Regions from separate parts of the Homo sapiens genome. Here regions 1 and 2 are each linked to region 3. The links are contacts of gene promoters, found by promoter capture Hi-C in human tissues and cell types (Jung and others, 2019). All regions are on one chromosome and are shown on one strand. The core of a region is centred on a gene start or on the middle of the fragment in contact, and the rest is flanking DNA. Distances in the headings are between cores, read along the strand shown. Region 1 overlaps PLD5 (phospholipase D family member 5). Region 2 overlaps PLD5 (phospholipase D family member 5). Region 3 holds the start of PLD5 (phospholipase D family member 5).

Evidence for each region. The method cuts DNA at HindIII sites, captures the fragments that hold promoters and counts their contacts. A contact is called where the count stands out against the background at its distance.
Region 1: a fragment that was not itself captured here is called in contact with the fragment with the promoter of PLD5 in region 3 in 2 of the 25 tissues and cell types used here (aorta and bladder).
Region 2: a contact is called between a fragment that was not itself captured here and the fragment with the promoter of PLD5 in region 3, in 2 of the 25 tissues and cell types used here (hippocampus and small bowel).

What each region holds. Positions count from the first base shown.
Region 1 is chr1:242,416,273-242,420,591 of GRCh38, forward strand. The region is part of intron 1 of PLD5 (phospholipase D family member 5); the gene reads right to left. Among named protein-coding and RNA genes, the nearest start is that of PLD5, 110 kb to the right of the region's middle. The HindIII fragment of the contact is 3,828 bases long and covers 1-3,350 here.
Region 2 is chr1:242,440,777-242,445,451 of GRCh38, forward strand. All of the region lies in intron 1 of PLD5 (phospholipase D family member 5), which reads right to left. Among named protein-coding and RNA genes, the nearest start is that of PLD5, 82 kb to the right of the region's middle. The HindIII fragment of the contact is 3,642 bases long and covers 816-4,457 here.
Region 3 is chr1:242,522,625-242,527,070 of GRCh38, forward strand. PLD5 (phospholipase D family member 5) reads right to left here and starts at 2,073. Exons shown (of 10, transcript NM_001372062.1): 1 at 1,464-2,073. The coding sequence starts at 1,652. The HindIII fragment of the contact is 9,545 bases long and covers 1-4,208 here.

The DNA.
Region 1 (4,319 bases), core at 187-2,686, 110 kb before region 3:
AAATTTGGAAGCTACATTATGGATTCATGAAGGTTGTATTATACTCTTCTACATACTTTTATGTTTGAAATTTTCTATGTCAAATGTTAAAAAAGAAAAGGAAAGGATTACCACTAGTGTAGGAAGTATAATTTCCTACAGGTGTCTTAAGAGAAGGATTCAGTATGTTACATGACACAGAATATGCAAATATAACCCTTCCAGAAGAAGCCTAGGATCTCTTAGTTTTATGAATCTATAATCAGTAGTTTTGGAGCTGCAAGAATTCAACAAATTCAGTTAGTAACATGAAATTTAAAGGATGGCAAAATAAATATAATTACCCTATTTGAAGTCGTTACCTCACCTTCTGCTAAAAAAGAGCAACTTCTTGACTTCCTGGCCATTGGTCGACAGCCCTGGAAACATTTTCAGCTAAATTAAACTCATTAAAAACCAAAACAAATAAAATCTTGTTTCTTTGGATGAAAGCAAAAATTCCTATTTGTGAACAAAGGCATTGATTCAATAGATTCCCCTGGTAACTTCCTTGGTGAACAGTTTGCTCTTGATGCCAAAAAGTCAGCCTCATAAATATGTGCCAACTCTGATGCCAATGCAGCATTCACATACATTCTTTCATCCATTCAGTAAACATTTATTGGAGCCCCTGTTGTACACAGACAATGTTTATACAGCAGTGATCACAACAAATATTTCTGCACCCTTCTTGTGAAAGATGGAAAGGGTAGTTAAAAAAAATCTATAAAATATATAATATTTCAGATGGCTGTAAGTGTAGCCCAAAAGAGTTATAATTTTAAAGGATGGCCAGGGAAAGTTCACCAAGAGGTAGCCCATGTGTAAAAACCTGCAAGTAATGATCTGAAGCAGGTGAGGAAGTTAGCTATGGGGTTAATCTGGGGGAAGAAGATTCCAGGCAGACGGAAGAACAAGCTATAAAGAGGTAGGAGGTGGGACTAAACTCAGGGGGCAAGACTCAACTGCAGAGGCAGGGCTTGGACACTGGACCAAATTGAGGACTAGTTAAAACAGGGATAGGGTGGAAGCATCTTTCCATAAAACACCCGCCAGTGTTCCATGTCAGTTTACCATTGCCATGGCAACACCCTGAAGTTACCACCCTTTTCCATGGCAACAATCTCACAACCCAGAAATTACCACCCTTGTTCTAGAAATTTCTGCATAATCTCCCCTTAGTTTGCATGTAATTAAAAGTGGATATAAATATGGCTGCAGAACTGCCTCTGAGCTGCTACACTAAGCACACTGTGTGTGGGGTAGCCCTGCTCCACAAGGAGCAGTACCTATGCTGTTGCTGTTCACTGGTGCTTCAGTAAAAGTTGCTCTCTAACATTACCAGCATGCCCTTGAATTCCTTCCTGGATGAGGTCAAGAGCCCTCCAGGGCTAAGCCCCCGTTATGGGGCTTGCTTCCCTGCATCAATAGGTCCTGCTGTGGGAATGTTCTTGGCATTTTTGTGGAAGAAAGAGGCCAGTACGGGGGATGGTGGTATGGGATAGAGCAAGGAGGGAGGTGATATGGGATAGAGCAAGGGAGTGGCAGGGAAGGATCACCAAGGCAGTAAGAGGCTCCTGCAGGACCTTGTAGGCCATTGCAAGCTTTACCCCAAGTGAAATGGAAAACCAAATGCTAAAGGAAGAACCACCAGCTAAGAGTGAGTGATGTCATGTAGTTATCACTCTAAAGGACACTTAGGCTGCTGTGTTGAGAATAACCTGGAAAGACAAGGGCAGAACCAGAAAGCTTTTGCCACAATCCAGGGGAGAAACATAATGTAGTTTAAACTAGGATGTTGCATTAGAAGAGGTGAAAAATGGCCAGATTCTGAATATATTTTGGAAATAGATCCTATAGTATTTATTTACAGACTTGGATCTGAAATCTGAGAGGACAAACAGAGTCAAGAAAAACCCTAAGGTTTTTAGCCTGAGCAACTGGAAGGATAGACTTCCCATTAATGAGAAGAGAATTATTGCAGGAGAACCTAATTTTAGAGGGGAAGGTCAGGAGTTTTGATCTGGTTGTGTTAGGCTTGAGATGCCCATTGGACATACAAAGTAAGCATCAAACGAATAGACAATTGGATGTGTGTCTGAAGCTCAGGGGCAAGGTCTAAGCTAAAGGTAATAAATGTTGGAGTTGTCAGTGTGTACATGGTATTTACAGGGAGGTGTTTGGGTGGGATCATCAAAAGAAGTGCCCCAGGTCACTTCAATAGTCAGACATCAGCACTACGAGGTAAAATCAGCAAAGGAGACCACAGCAAAGTCAGGAGAATGGGGAGTCTTGGAAACTCCGCAAAAAAAAGTGCTTCTGGGAAGAGGGGCTGACCTAGTGTATCAGTTCAAATGCTGCTGGTAGATTAAGTGAAGTGGCAACTGAGAACGTGTGGGCTTTCTTGCACTCAATTTATTCACACAATTTCATCACCGAATTGAGCATGATACTCTTAAATGTCCACACCACATCATACCCCATAGTGTGCTCCTTCCAGCAACACTTCTGCTGTTTCTGAAATTATGGACACGTGTTCTTGACTAAGGGTCCAGAGAATAGGTTTCCTTCATCCTAGAGTCATGTGGCAATGCCAGCACCAAATGGAATAGTAATCTCCAAATAAAAAAGATTCACTGTGATCTACGTATTATCTAAGAACCAATATTTTAGTTCCCTGGCTGGAGCTAGGAGCAGTTCCTTGTTCTTCTAAATAAGTGGGACTTCACACAGAGACATTGGGTCAAGTAGCATGAATAATGCTTAGAAAAGCTTTAATGCTACCTCCTGTGATCCTCCTAAGACACAGGCAGGAAAAAAAAATGATGATCTGTAACCAAAGAGGGTGGTTAGACCCTCACGCCTCCAGGCGGGTGTGGCTCATGCTCAGTGTGGAGATGAGATGGGCGCCTGGGTGGCGTGTTCTTACAGCCTGCGTGACGTTTCTCATGCCATCAGGGAAGGCAGACACTTCCCTCAGTGGGTGGCAGAGGACACAAAAGTCATGGCAAAGACTCGTCGCATGACTTGTAGTTTCAAGCTGTTCCATGAATACAGCCATCTTATAGTGCAAGCTGAGTGCAGTCCTGATTTTTGTTTTTTTTTTTTTTTTTTTGGCGGGGGGAGACAGAGTCTCGCACTGTTGCCCAGGCTGGAGTGCAATGGTGCGATCTCAGCTCATGGCAACCTCCACCTCCCGGGTTCACACAATTCTCCTGCCTCAGCCTCCTGAGTAGCTGGGACTACAGGCGCACACCACTACACCCGGCTAAATTTTTTGCATTTTTTTTTTTTTTTTTTTTTTAGTAGAAACAGGGTTTCACTATGTTGGTCAGATTGGTCTCAAACTCCTGATCTCATGATCTGCCCGCCTCGGCCTCCCGAAGTGCTGGGATTACAGGCGTGAGCCACCATGCCCGGCCATCCTGAATTTTATTGCCAGCAAGGAGAAGTAAAGGTCTAGGGCTACCCAAGAATGAAGTAGTTCACCAGCCTTTTAAAAATAGATTGAAAAGTCAACCACATTCTTATGTTTCAAACACAGCTTTGGTGCCACAACTCACACCACTGTATGAGACTTGAATTCTATCAGCCAGCTTTTAATCCAAGGCTGCTAGCTTCCAACTACTTTAAGGGATGTTCTGATGATAAAAGTCAGTCCCAGTAAAAACAGGTATTTGATTAGGGAGCTTGAGACCCAGAAATAAGACTATACCAGGAACTCTCACAAAATTCTTCGATAAACTTGTTACCTCCAGGGCTCCTGATTCTTGCTGTAGAAGGAGCACTTCTATCTCAATTGCAAATAATACCATCTCCTATGGAGCACTTACAATGAGCCAGGCACCATTCCAAATGGTTTATGTACATGATCTTATTAATACTCAGAAAGCTTTTATGAGGTGGATACAGCATATGCATAAGAAAACTGAGATTTAAAAAGATTAAGTTACTTGCCCAAGCTCTCACAATGACTAAGCCCAGAATGAAGGTCAGAACCTAGGTACTAGAACTCTAGAGCCCTCGCCCTCAATCAACATGTTCCATCTCCTGCTGGGAATGGTTTCTGGTAGGCAAAGTCAGCACTTCATTCTTACAGCCCCAAACTCTACTACCAGGGTCAACAACTCCGTTACACAGTTTCCTACTCCTATGTTATTCCTTAATTCTTTCTTTAGATACTAAAAACATCCTTAAGCATCATTATCTTAATAGTAGTTAAGTTTACTTCTGAACCCACTTCTTATGATGCAGCTGAATGGCAACTTTAATGCCTTTTATCATTTCCTCTCTTGCATGGA
Region 2 (4,675 bases), core at 1,387-3,886, 81 kb before region 3:
ATGTTTTTTCTGAAACCACTCATTGCTCCCTCTCCCTCACTCCGCCTCCTCCTACTGCTCTGTCCATTACTTTCCTTCACACTTCTAAAATCAGGTCATTCACCCCCTTGACACTGTATGGATGAAATACAAAGAGAACTGGATTGGGTGATTGCTTAAATTTGCATGTACAAAGATGCCCATTCAGCATTATTATAAATAGTAATTTGGAAGGAAAATTGGAAAAGCATCCATGTCCATTATAATGATGAGTTACATTTATGTGAGTTGTATTTATTGGTATGGAACAATAGCTATAATAAATTAAGTTGAAAAAATCAGGACTAGGCAGAATGTATAATATTCACTGTTTGTTTCAACAAATATGTAATGTGCCATGCATGGTGCTAGCCATCAAGAGTATAATAGGATGCTAGTATAAATGATAACATAATTTAAAATAGTAGTAAGTGCTATGAAGCAAAATGCAGGATACTATGAGTATATAATTGATGAAAGATTTAACCTACTGCCATTAGTAAAAATGCTGTGTATGGTATGTTTTTAGTAGGTGTGTGTGGTGTTGTGTGTGTGTATGAAAAAGGCTAGATTATAAATATCTCTATATAAAACCAACAGTTATTAGCCCTAAATTATTTCACTTTTCTTTTCACCATGTTATGAATCTTCCGAAATTACCATGTGTTTCTTTAGTAGTCATAAAAAAACTTTAAAAAAAAATTAATTTGGCTTACTAAGCTTATCTTAGTTTCCTCAGTTATAAGTCAGATTTAGAGTTATCAGCCCTTTTTCATCTTCCCTTAAGATGAAATAAGAATTTATATTTCCTGACTTTAGAGTGCATAAGGATATATATTACTTTTGCACATTTTAAAGTAACAGTAATAGAAAGCTTTGGGGAAAAGGAGTCAGACAGACACCCCTCTTCCCGAGGAACACAGTGGGCCATCCTAGGCAGGGGAGCCACCGAGCCCACCTTCTGCGAGAGCCCAAGAGGTCTCACCATTGTACTTGGCAACTCTTCAAAATGGATCCTCTGCCAAAGTTGAAGCATCAGTTATATCTCAATGTGGAAGACCCAGAAAGGCTATTACGTTATTTCTGATTAAACTTATTCCTTACAAAGATAAACAGAAAGTTAACTGACATATTTTTAATCTTTGCTATTGATAATTTATCTCTGCTATTTGCAGCTGTTTCCAGTACATTGAGTAGCTCAGCTGTAAGCTTCTGTATAAAGCAAAGAGTGAAGCATTCTCTCTGCCACCTCTCGCTGACAACTTAAGAGCACCTCTCATGGGAGCACAGAACTCTTCCCCACAAAGGGCACAAAGTGTCTAGGGCATGGACTCGGTTGCCCAGTGATTTAAAAAATACCTTGGCCGATGCCCATCATGAGACATTCCAAAGGCATGTCCAAAGACATTCTAAAGTACCAGAGTTCCTTAAAAAATGCTTATATGTTTTTTTGTAAACTTCACATACTCATTGTCATGAAAAACTCTATTTAAATAAGAATAAAAACAACTGAGAAGTTCTAAAACATCTCTCAAATTCCGCCACTGCTAGTAGTGTGGTGAGCATGTGCCTCAAGATTTCCATCTACGTGCAGCATCCAGGTATTACGTCCACTTTATCCATGGCGGCACTGTTACATAAATGGGATTATTCGCTTCTTTTTTAAAACAAAAAATAAAGAAGGGTATTTAAAGCTTAAAAATAAGCAGATCTTGATTAGGAATTCTAAATCAGGATCATGAGACGCCACATGATGGCTTGGGGAACCAGTGATGTTTTATTCTTTGAGCGGGGTGCTAATTACAAGATTGTGTTCATTTTGCAAAAATGTGAGCTGTACATCTATGATTTGTGCACTTTTTCAGTTTTTATGTTATCTTAAAGTTTTTTAACTTAAAAACCCGATTAAGTAAATCGACACTCCATACAAAGAAGAGACGCAGGGAAAGGAAACACTTATAATCCTAAACTAGTAAAGTCAATTTGTATGCAGTATTTAATTTTCAGTATCTTAAGAAATTAATCCGTTATTTGTTCATGCACTTTCACACAAATTTGAGAGGCAGTTCTTCTAAGTCCTAGATTGGATAAACGGGTATTCCTTATCCATCAGTGATTTTAAACTTAAGTCGTAAACACAGTTCTGCAAGGAATCTCCATGCCGAATCAACAAAAACTGGGGAAGTCCTAGGTGTAGCAACATTGCAATATAGCCTGCCCTTGCTATGACAGAACATGTAAGCTAACAAGCTATACATTCTATGAACTTATTAAATCAGCCAAAGTGTCCATCAGAAATATTAAATCCTATGGACAAGGCTGAAGTTAGTTAAAAAGTGAGATTTAAGTATATACAGATGTGATTCCCCCCTTTTCCCTATCAGGTATTTTATCTATCTCTTAAGACACTTTTATATATTAAATATATTTTATATTTTGTTTTTACTATTGAAAACAAAATAAGCACAGTGGTAAAATAAAAGAGGAAATTAATCAAGCACTTTTGCAACACAAGCTATAAATCCAAACATGGCAAATTTCAGAATGCAAACAACAAATTTCTCCAAATAGATATGCTCTCCTTATATCTATGTGTAATACAGGGAGGGCCACATCAAGGAAGGTGAACTGGTTGGTGGGTCTTAGGGAGTCTGGGCACTTCATAGAGCCAGTAAGCAGATGCCCAGAGCTGAGTCCTTAGGTGTCCAGGATGTGAACTGGGAAGATTATCCACCTACTCCTTGGATGGCTAAATCCAAGGAGTAAGATGGGAAGTTAGAGATGAAGTACAAAGGCAAAAAGTAATGAATGAGGAGTGTTGAAACAAGTAAATGGAAAGGAAGGAAGAGTGAACGTAAACTGTATCATAGCTTAACCTGAAGCACCTAAGAAAGTTTTGCTATTATTCTTGAGTCCACATTTATAGGAGGGCATTTAAAGTTGCAGTCAAGGCTATCAACATGAACCACACCACTTCTTTTGTAATCCTATGAGCATCTCTCCAGAGACTTCCTCCATCTCAAACCTATTTAATTTCTAGGCAATGCAGCTAATTAGCTTATTTATCCTAGGACTTCCATTTATTGCATTGATTTTACCATCAACATCAGACTTAATAGGCCACCACATCAATGGTATTTTCTCTAGCATCCCATGTATGGTGGCTTCTGTGTCTTCTCACCTAATGGGACCTGTGCAGCATCCATCATGAATCATCAGTATCCAGGAGGCTCAACAATAGGATAAAAATTTGAACAGAACTCATATTTGCTTATTTTAAGCTTTGCACTTCCTGTAGCCCATCAAGAGTAATTCCTTCCTATAAGACCACAGCAAAATGAATGAGATTACTCATCTTCATTATATTGTTGGTATGTGTAATTCATAATTTCTAATGCTCTTGACACCATCTTCAAGGAGAAACTCAAAGCCAACCAACACATTCAATTTCCCAAAAACTTGTCACCACAATACTTCTTTTTCCAATAAATAGCATCTTAGATCCACCCTATTAATAAAATCACTCATACCTTTATTCTATGTGCTTTAGTTTTCAAGTACCGGAGAAGAGGGAGGTATTTTGTATGCACTCATTCTCCTCCACATATTTCTATTCATTTGATCAATGTGGTTACAGGTTATCAATGATCAAGAAAATGGCACTGTAGCCATTAGTAATTTCTAACTATATCTAATTTGTCCTCACTCATTACCTTCAAGCTTCTGAAACCTGTGGACATAGGAATATAGGTGCATGTAACCTCCTCTGATCCTCTAGATCCATCTTCTCCTCAGGAACATAATCAAAAGCCTACTTTATACAAATAATATATATATTATATATTTATATAAAATATAAATATTTAATTATACTATACATAATATAAATATTTATATTATATAAATATTATATTATATAATAAAATAATATATATATTATTTGTATAAAGTAGGCTATATATATAATATATATTTCTCCTAGGACACACCACATTGTCACTCACTTCTAAACACCTCATTGGACTTTGGGAACAGGCCATAGGACTCATCTCATACAGTTATTGACATGTGATATATATTAAAGAGATGAGACCTATAGCCTGTTACTCAAAGTCCAATAGATAACATAAGTCACATATAGCTATGTGTTATATGCTCTACTATATAGACCCTCAGCTTTTCTCTTAAGTTATGCCTTTATTCATTCAACACCATATAAAACCTACTATGTGAAAGGCACTGCTGTGGTGTGAATATTTGTTTCTCCCACCTCCCAAACTCATTTGTTGAACCCTAATCCCCAGTGTGATAGTATTAGAAGGTAGGGCATGTGGAAGGTGATGAGGTCTTGAAGGCTCCGCCATCACTAATCAGATTAGTGCCCTTATAAAAGAGACACCAGAGAGCTATCGAGCTCATTCTACTGTGTGAACACACAGCGAGAAGGCATCATCTATTAAGCAGAGAGTTGGCCCTCACCAGACACCAAATCTGCTAAAACCCTGATCTTGGATTTCCCAGTCTCTATAAGGAATTAATTTCTGTTGTTTGTTTGTTTGCTTTTTGAGACAGAGTCTTGCTCTGTCCTCCAGGCTGGAGTGCAGTGGTACAATCTCAGTTCACTGCAACCTCTGCCTCCTGGGTTCAAGTGATTCTC
Region 3 (4,446 bases), core at 823-3,322:
TACTAAAATCAGCCACATCATTGGTTGATTACATGCTCTTTGCATGTAATGCATAAAGATGCTGTTTGCCCCCTTTAAACTAATAACACCACCAGCCCCTTCACTAATTCTGGAGAGGGCATGTTTAATGGATACGTTGCCTTTCAAACAACTTGCCATCCTAGAAACCTTCAGCGACTTCCATAGTCTTAAGGATATGAGGCATCCCTTTGACATTAGCAAATGGCTCTCTACACATAAAATAGTGCTGTTATCCAACTCAAAGCTTCATATTAGAGCTTTCAGTGACTTCATCAGGCCCTCAGAAAGCAGGCACAGACCTTCCTTTCAGATTATTATAATAGAGAAATGCCCCTTCTTCGCGTGTTTCCTCCTGGGAAGAAGCCTGTTGGTGCTGCAGAGCCCAGGAGGAGTGCTTTGGGGGGCAGATGGGAAGCAGGTCGGTGCAGCAGTTGGAAATGCGTGAGTTCCAGGAGTTCTTGGTCTTATCTTTTTTATCATTGTTGGCGTCCTGACCCAAATACAAGGAAACCTCCACATTCCATTAGCAGACTCAATTTGGATTCTGCAGCTCTGCAGGGAGAAATAGCATCTTCTCCTTAGCTAGTTGTGCTGCACTCTTGAGATAATTCTCTTAGTTTAATTTTAACATTTGGTTTAAGAAGATGCTGATGGATCAAATTTGAAACTGTGGATCCACTAAACGCCTTTTTAGAAGGTTTTTTTTTTTTCTTTCAAAATAGCAAGCCTTAGGAGCTCAACTCCAGAGCCAATTCACTTCGCGTGAAGTCGGCACTCCTTGGGAGTAGAGGTCCCCTCTCACCGGCTCCCACCCTCCAGAGGGGAGGATTTCTGGGGAGCCCGACGATCCGCTCGCTTTTAGCCTTTCTCCTTGCAACGCGCAAATCTCTCCCTAGTTGGGCTCAAGTAGAGAGGATCACCAACTGCTCATCCCAGCGGACACTCTGCAAAAAACTCTAATGGCTTGTGCGCGGGTCCACGCTGGTCGCTAGCGGCGCCAACTTTACTCATTCGTTAATTTGCTAGTTTTTGGACTGAGTAAAACAGCCCCCAAAGACGCGGGCAAACGCCGCTCTAAAGCCCACTACCATGCAACGCCAGGTTGCTCGGAGCCACGCTGGTGGCACTTCCCCTTCGTGCTCACTCTGCACAGGCACCTCCAGAACCCCGTGCAAATGAACCCTACCGGGAGACGCAGGTGGGCAGGTCGGGTCGGCAGGGACCAAGAGCCTGAAAGGGAACCTGCCCTCCCCTCCCCGCAGCCCGGTCATTAAGGCAAGAAACTGCAGGCAGAGAAGCCCCCGAATCCGACCTAGGACGTCGGCGCCTGCCAGGATCCCCTCGCCTGCCCCCCGCGCCCCGCGCGCGCTCATGCCACCACCACGGGGAGGGTGCATGCGGCAGGTGCCTGGCCGAGGCCCCCGGGAGCGAGTCGCCCTTACGTGCTCCAGCTTGTCTTTCCTCCGAAGCCAGACGCTGGCGCTGTAGTCCTGCTGCTTGACGCTGCTGTAGAAGTTCGCGCCCACTCGGGTCAGGCTTGGGGAGGGCTCCTTGGGGCGGCTTTTGAGCCTCATCTGCTCGAAGCCCTCATGGGGGGAGGCCGAGAGCCACTCGTGCTGCCGGATCTCCATCCTGACATGACCGGGCGGCCGCCGGCGAGCAGCGGACTCGGGACGGGCGCGCGGGGAGCCGGGCGCGGAGGGCGAGCGGGAGGCCCAGCGGGAGCCGGAGGTGGAGCTGGAGACTGAGCTGGAGGAGCTGGAGGAGCGAGCGGGCGCGGGGAGCGCGGGGTGCTGAGCGCCAGCTGGGAGCGCGGCCGGGCGGGAGGGGGCGATCGCGGGAGGCGCGGGGCGGAAGGAGGGAGGGCGAGGTGCGGGCGGGGGCGGGGGCGGGGGCGGAGGGGGACGGACGGGGAGAAGGGGGACGAGAGGGGACAGGGAGGGAAAGGAACCTGCTCCGGGGAGACAGAAGTGCCCGGTGCGGCGGCGACGTCGCCCGGCGGCTGCGGTCCCGAGCGGGCGCTCCGCTCGCCGGCTCCTTGCGGCACCTACTGGGACCCGGGCCGGCTCCCGGGGCGGCGGCGGCGGCGGGGGTGGGGTGCGGTGGGAGGGGCCGCGGCTGGCCCAGCCAGCCCGCGCCTGCAGGTTGGTGCAGTGAGGAGCCGCCGCCGCCCCTCCCGCCGCGCCCAGGCCCGGGCGGCCGCGCTCCCGCTCCGCACCCGCCTTTCCCGAGCAGGCTACACCTCTCCCTGGCGCATCTTTACTGGAAAGCCGGCAGGCGAGGGGAGAAGTGAGCGCCGTCTCCGCGCCTCCTCGGTCCTGCTGGCTGAGCGCGGGGATGGCTCCGGAGGGAGACACTCAGGAAACCACCTCCGCCCTTCCCCCATCTCTATCCAGCGGCGCCCCCTCACCCTGCCCCCGGCTCGCTTGGGCTGCGCCTTCCCCCATTCTGAAAGTTCACTAACTTCCCACCCCAAGGGACTTAGAGCAGAGGGTGCCCAGCATTCCCCCCTGAAAATAGCCGAGAGACATGTGTTTTCTGGAGCCGTACACGCTACTTTCATCCGATGGTGTGGCGATGCAAATACGCCCGGGGGCAGTAGCCCCTCGGGCAGGCACGCGGGACCGGTTGCTCCCCAGCCCTCGGTGTCCACCTAGAACCGGGCTCCCCGGGCCGCACCCATTCCGATCCTGGGAGGGTGATCCAGGGCTCCTCTGCAACGCTCCGCTTGTGCGGTGACTGTTCCTTAGGTGGACGTGGCCCAACTGCTGTGCATTTGTTTCTTTTCTCTGTTTCTAGGCCCCTAGGGTCCAGGCTTTTCCTTCGGGGCCCAGCCAAGCGTGATGATTATTAGGAATAGGGTGGCTTGTTCGCGATTAAATCTTCAATCTCTTCATCTTTTGCTATCTTTGGAGTCAACCTCTCGAAACATTTTTTGGTTTTATCTAAATGCTAAACAGCTGGTGTTCAGGGTGTCTCGTGTCTGGTTAAAAGCTTGGGAAGTGTATGGAAGCTGGAGAGGTATACAGGGGATTTTAGAGGGTGTTGCCAAGGGTAAACTGAAGGCTCTCTAGCCCTCGGCAGAACTGCCCTACTTGAATGACGGTTTCAAAGACATTCTGGCTGGGATTTCACAAACTTTTAGGAGGACAGGGATTGTGTTTCATATCTTTTCAAAGTCTCCATTTAAAAAAATGGTATAGTAAAAATAGTAGTTGAAATAAAATCCTGTGCACATTCAATATGGGGATGAAACAACTAAACACAAATACACACATTTTGGTTGTGCTAGGTTGGTTTTCTTAGGAGCTGAACTATATTGTGCAATAGATGCCCCGACCTGTGGGCTATCTCTAAGTCTCATGTTATCCTGCAAGATAAATGTTATTAACCCTCCTTTCCAGTGAGGAAAGTGAAGCAGAAGCAGAAATTACACTTCAAAACAAGGATATGAACCAGATTGAAAAGCTGTGAAGGCCAGGCGGAGTGGCTCAGGTTTGTAATCTCAGCCCCTTGGGAGGAGGAGGCAGGAGGATCACTTGATCCCAGGAGTTCCAGACCAGCCTGGGCCTACACTAAAAATAAAATAAATTAGCCAGGCGTGGTGGTGCTCATCTGTGGTTTCAGCTACCTGGGAGGCTGAGGCGGGAGGATCGCTGAAGCCTGGGAAGAGGAGGCAACAGTGAGCCGATATCGCACTGCACCCTGGGCGACAGGGCAAGACCCTGTCGGAGGTGAGGCTGTGAAAACTATACATTCCATTGTATAGCATCTCTGATAATTTTGTTTGTTTGTTTTGTTTTGTTTTTGAGATGGAGTCTCGCTCTGTCACCAGGCTGGAGTGCAGTGGCGCCATCTCGGCTCGCTGCAACCTCCGCCTCCCGGGTTCAAGCGATTCTCCTGCTTCAACCTCCCGAGTAACTGGGACTACAGGTGCACGTCACCACGCCCAGCTAATTTTTGTACTTTTAGTGGAGACGGGGTTTCACCACGTTGGCCAGGCTGGTCTCTCAAGTGATCCGCCAGCCTCGGCGTCCCAAAGTGCTGGGATTACAGGCACGATCTGATTTTTTTATTATTACACTTTGCCCTACTATTCACTGTCCCCCAGTTTTTACTATTAAAGTTTAGCCTCCATAGCTTATGCTTTCTTTAAAGTATAACCACACAATTTAAATGACGACAAACAATTATACAGTCTTTTATAATATTGTTAACAGAAAGATGTTATTGCCCTTCTGCAAAGAATACCTCTGCCTTTTGCTGTATGAGATTAGGTATTTGATATAGCCAAACCTTGACAAGTGATAGATATCCAATTCAGAGTAATAATGAACTGTTCTACCATAGAAGAATTTAAACAAATGGTTTCCATATTGTGCCAGATTCTCAAAGTAAATAGATTTTTTTTAAACTATACCTTTA